Linked DNA regions of Homo sapiens: region 2 is linked to region 1. Evidence: promoter capture Hi-C in human tissues and cell types (Jung and others, 2019). All regions are on one chromosome and are shown on one strand. The core of a region is centred on a gene start or on the middle of the fragment in contact, and the rest is flanking DNA. Distances in the headings are between cores, read along the strand shown. Region 1 holds the start of DCST2 (DC-STAMP domain containing 2). Region 2 overlaps KCNN3 (potassium calcium-activated channel subfamily N member 3).

What was found. Contacts are between HindIII fragments. The study calls those that stand out against the background at their distance.
Region 2: a contact is called between a fragment that was not itself captured here and the fragment with the promoter of DCST2 in region 1, in 2 of the 25 tissues and cell types used here (dorsolateral prefrontal cortex and spleen).

Annotation. Positions count from the first base shown.
Region 1 is chr1:155,032,440-155,035,139 of GRCh38, forward strand. DCST2 (DC-STAMP domain containing 2) reads right to left here and starts at 1,342. Exons shown (of 15, transcript NM_144622.3): 1 at 995-1,342; 2 at 655-825; 3 at 228-329. The coding sequence starts at 1,262. DCST1 (DC-STAMP domain containing 1) reads left to right here and starts at 1,385. Exons shown (of 17, transcript NM_152494.4): 1 at 1,385-1,415; 2 at 1,533-1,658; 3 at 1,996-2,121; 4 at 2,214-2,288. The coding sequence starts at 1,598. The HindIII fragment of the contact is 8,066 bases long and covers 1-2,700 here.
Region 2 is chr1:154,825,356-154,828,055 of GRCh38, forward strand. The region is part of intron 1 of KCNN3 (potassium calcium-activated channel subfamily N member 3); the gene reads right to left. Among named protein-coding and RNA genes, the nearest start is that of KCNN3, 44 kb to the right of the region's middle. The HindIII fragment of the contact is 4,353 bases long and covers 1-2,700 here.

The sequences.
Region 1 (2,700 bases), core at 92-2,591:
ACAGACATGTGTCATTACATCTGGCTAGTTTTATTTATTTTCTATTTTTTTATTTTTTATAGAGACAGGGTCTCGCCATGTTGCCAAGGCTGGTCTCAAACTCCTGGGCTCAAGTGATTCTCCCACCTCGGCCTCGCAAAGTGCTGGGATTACAGGCATGAGCCACCGCACCCGGCCAGGACTGGGTGCATTTTGAGTCCCCGGGATAGACATGCTAATGTGCTTACCTATGTGTTTCACACCATCCATGATTGACCGAAAGAACTTGCGGACCCGGTCAGCCACCTCTTTGGTCTTCCGGGCAATAGCTTTAATCTTGTTCAGGGCACCTGATGGGTGAGGGACAGAGGCACTTTGGAGTCTTCTCCTCTAGGGGCTGGTTCTCACCATTGCCCCTTAAGCAGGGAGTAGAGAGGAGGCCACCATTTCCAGAGGCGGGAAGCCTGGATTCTGGGGCCTGGGAGATCGTTAATCTGGGAGTGGAGGAGGCCAGAGAGCAAGGAGAGAGGGTTTAGCTGTGCCCAGAGTCCCTTCCAGGCCCAGATGCTCCGCGATTAGCACCAGCAGAGAAGGAGGCCAAAGGACTGTAGAACATGCAGGATGAGGGGGGCGAGGGGGGCCCGTGGGAGACAGTGGTAGAGGTGGGGGACTTACTGACAAGAGGTTGCTTGGCCCTCTGTAGCACTTCGGCGGTCTGGTTCAGGGCCAGCTCTGCCCCACAGGCTACAGCCTCGCTGGCCCGGGTGAAGTTGCGTAGAGTGTTGGCACAAGGCCCTTGAAGCACCAACCCAAAAGCAGCCACCAACAGTAGTGTCCGGCCCTGCCCTGGGGGCGACAGCTTTGTTAGAACCAAGACCCCAGCCCCAAACATGGCAGCAAGTCCCTTACATAAGCCTTCAGAATATTTCCCTTAACCCCTGCCTCTCCTCCAGCATCTCTTCTGCCCCAGCACCAGCCCCAGGACCTGCCCCCTAGCCCTGGGTGCCAAGCTCACTGGAGAAGGCCTGAGGCAGCAGCAGGAGGACAGTGGCTCGGACCTGGCGAGAGAATCCCATGCCCAGGCTAAGGAAGGCAGCCAAAGTGAGGGTGCCCACCAGGCAACCCCAGGGGCTGTGGCCTTCCACCAGTAGCTCCAGAAGCCCGTAGGCCGTGGCTAAAGACAAGCCCAGGGTAAAACCTCCCACGCTGCGAACCACAGCTCTCGCCATGCTAGGCTCCTCTCCCCCCAAGGGGTGCACAACATCCTTCATGACTTTGGGCATGGCTGCTGAGACCAAATGTCTGCCTGTCTCCAGGAGATGCCCGCTGACTTCTGTGCTCCTGGAATTTCTCACCGTATTCTAAGGTTCCAAAGGGCTTTCACTGCATATGTCTTGGAATCCTTGACCCAGTTCCGAGGACTGGAGAGGGGATAGGTAGGTCTCTAATCTCCTTCCCCACTTCTCGGAGCAGAAGGATTAAAAGGCCCAGAGCTCAGGCCTAGGCTTCCCATGAAGCGGAAGAGACAGGCAGCACCTCTCTTCTCTCACCAGAACCTTGTGTCCAAGGAGGTCCTTCAGGAGACCTGGGATGAGTGGTGCTTCCCCAAAACAGACTCATGGACATTAAACATCATCAGAATGGCACAAGAGGGCAAAGAAGAAAACAGCCTCATACCAGTGAGTCACTCAGCAGAGACCCAGTATCCCTTGACCTCCACTCTCATCCCATCTCTCCTCCTGGAACTCCTGCACACTATCCCCCAACTCGGTGTCCGCGCCTCCACCACCTCTCTGGTCTAGTGCCTCCCGCCTCCCAGCCCAGCCCTTGCCTTTGCTGTCCCTTACACCCATACCACTTCCTCAGGCTCCCTCATCCTCCTCCAGGGTCCCCTAAGTTCCTACTGTTTCACATGCCAGGTTTCCCCAGCCTCTATCCACCTGCAAGCCCTGAATCCTAATGAGCCCCATCCCAGGCAGAAGAGTGGGCTGTTGAGCTACCCTGTCCCCCTCTTAGCGGTGCAGAGGCTCCTGACCTGGGGGCTGCCAGTCTCCTGTAGCTGGTTCCTGTGGCGCCAGCCGGGCGAGTTTCCTGTCACTGCTCTCCTGCTGGGGGCAGGCGCTGGGGGGCTCCTGGCCATAGGTGAGTGTGGAAGCAGAAAGTTCGGGGTGGGCAGAGGCTGGACCAGGGCTAGGACCCATCTTTTGGCCTTTGGCTTGACCTTGTGCCCTTAGGTCTCTTTCAGCTCCTGGTGAACCCCATGAACATCTACGAAGAACAGAAGATTATGTTCTTGTACAGCTTGGTGGGTTAGTGCTGGGCAAAAGCCAGGAACACTCAAGCGGCCTGTGGAACACAGCGCCGTCCTGCATGCCCAGGAAGGAGTCGGGACTTGTTTCTTCTGTACCCATACATCCCCTGTGGCTTCCGCCTCCTCCTGGGCTTTACGGGGAGGTCCAGAGGGAAGAGGCTGCCAATTTAAGAAGGAAGACACCGTCCTTGCCCTGAGGGAGTCTCTCCATTCCGAGGGACTCCCCATCACCCACATGATATAGTCCAACCCCATAACCCTTCATAACTCTCATCTCTCCTGACCTGTCTGACCTCGTTTTCTGATCCTCCTAAGAAATTAAATTCATTCATTCATTCATTCATTCACTCAGCACTTACTGAGAATCTGCTGAGGATTTAGCAGTAAACAAGGATGACAAGCATCCAGCC
Region 2 (2,700 bases), core at 197-2,696, 210 kb before region 1:
TGAGAATCATTTTTTTTTTTTTTTTTTTGAGACAGAGTCTTGCTCTGTCTCCCAGACTGGAGTGCAGTGGCACGATCTCAGCTCACTGCAAGCTCTGCCTGCCGGGTTCATGCCATTCTCCTGCCTCAGTCTCCCCAGCAGCTGGGACTACAGGCGCCCGCCACTACACCCGGCTAATTTTTTTGTATTTTTAGTAGAGATGGGGTTTCACCGTGTTAGCCAGGATGGTCTCGATCTCCTGGCCTCAAGTGATCCACCCGCCTCGGCCTCCCAAAGTGCTGGGATTACAGGCGTGAGCCACCGCGCCCAGCTGAGAGTCATGTTTTAAAGTCATTTATTCCTAAATGCCCACAAATTTTCAAGTGGTTAAGTAGATTTGAGATCAGGCAGTGATGGAACACTACGCAGCCACTAAAAACACTTCTGCACACGGCCGTAATCCCAGCACTTTGGGAGGCCGAGGTGGGCAGATCACGAGGTCAGGAGATCGAGACCATCCTGGCTAACACAGTGAAACCTCATCTCTACTAAAAACACAAAAAATTAGCGGGACGTGGTGGCAGGCGCCTGTAGTCCCAGCTACTCGGGAGACTGAGGCAGGAGAACGGCATGAACCCGGGAGGCGGAGCTTGCAGTGAGCCGAGACAGTGCCACTGCACTCCAGCCTGGGTGAAGAGCGAGACTCCATCTTAAAAAAAAACAAAAACAAAAACAAAAACAAAAACAAAAACAAAAAAAACCAAAAAACACTTCTGCAGACAATATCTGAAGACATGGAGAATGGTTGATGATAGACTATTAAGTGATAAACTCAGACCCCAAAACGATATGTAGTATATTTCCAATTATTTCATTTTTAAGCTTTTTTAGTGTAGAAAAAGACTGAAAATATGTCAATAGAATTCCTAAGAGCTGCCTCCATCCATGTGGTCCCTGTTCTGCTCCAGGCCACGAGCCAGCCCTTCACAGATCTGTGATTTCTCATTGATGACAATAATCTGTAATAAAGCACATCTATAGGGGCCTACCATGCAAGGATGGCATTGTCAACCCACTCTTACAGAGGAGAAAGCTTAAGCTCTCAGAAGTTAGGTAACTTGTCCAAGGGCATGTTACCTAACTTCTCACCATGGCAAAGCCAGGATTTGCAAAAGCCAGGTTTTACACCCAGATCTGTCTGCCTCCAGGTTCCATTGCCCCGCCTGTGTCCCAGCACCCCACCTGCTCTGGCGGCCACGCCTTGCTGGCCCTCCAATATCTGCAGCGAGGCTTCTTAGAGCTGTTCCAGCCTTTCCTCCCCTGAGGCTGTGCAGAGGGTGATGGAGTGTGTTCCCCAGCTTCTGAGCCAGCCACATAAATTGCTCTCCTGGCCTGCCTTGTAGCTTCCAAAAACAGGCCAGAACTGTAATGATTATGGTATATCTTCCCAGAGACTTTGAAGTTCTAAATGTATTTTATTGTTTGGGTCATCGCAAAAAGGAGAAAGCTATGCTTACAGACAGAGACCTGGAGGGGCACTGAACCAAACTGAAATATTAGCTTAACTGAGATAATGATGCGCAGGCTCCTTCCCCAACCAAGCTGTTACCCACAAAGAGTATATGTGTATGGTTGTGTGTGTGTGTGTTTATACACATATGTGGTCCATTCACGATTTCTGTCACTGGCTGAAACCCCCAAAGGGAAAAGGTGATAGTATCTGAAGTTCATAATTTCTGAATTAAGGTCTGATGTGCCTGCCTGACATCACTATGTTTTGTGCATTCAATCTGGGAAATAATTGATTTAGAAATCTTTTCTATCTAATAAGGTCAACTTTTCCTTCAATTTCATGGAGAGGCTCCAAAATTGATTGATATTCAACATCGGCTTATGACTGTGGTTCTGTAATGGTTGTCCTAATTAGATACTCTTGCTAATTAATGCTATGCAAATTAAACCAGCCCCTCTTCCGCTAAAGGGAAGACCGCATCACTGGTCGCTGTTCTCCATGGAGACCTGAGGCTTCTTTCCCTCCACATCAGCACCAAGCCCTGGCCTTCCTCATTCCTCAATCTCACACTGTCCAGTTCTTGGGATCTTTCATTCTTACCCATCATCCTCAGCTCCTATCTTAGCACAGCCTCCTCCTCCCAGGTGCAGCACCCTAATTTAATTGCAAGCCCAGGCGTGGTGGCTCACGCCTGTAAGTCCAACACTTTGGGAGGCCAAGGCAGGTGGATCACTTGAGGTCGGGAGCTCAAGACCGGCCTGGCCATCATGGTGAAACCCCATCTCTACTAAAAATACAAAAATTAGCTGGGCATGGTGGTGCAAGCCTGTAGTCTCAGCTTCTCAGGAGGCTGAGGCAGGAGAATGGCTTGAACCCAGGAGGCAGAAGTTGCAGTGAACCGAGATCACACCACTGCACTCCAGCCTGGGAGACAGAGCAAGACTCTGTCTCAATAATAATAATAATAATAACAACAACAATAATAATAATAATTGCAGCTGTTGGCCCTCCCAGCATCCTCAGAGCGGCTTCCCAACCTGGCTCCTACCAGAAGTCAGCTAACAGAATCCTGTTTCAGTCACTAATGAATGAAGTGACAGAATGAAGTCACTCAGACCCTCTCTCTCCCAGGACTGTCCAACCTGAGACCGGGAGAGACAGCCGATGCTGTCACAGTGGGAAGGGAGACTCTGGGGACTCCAGAGGGC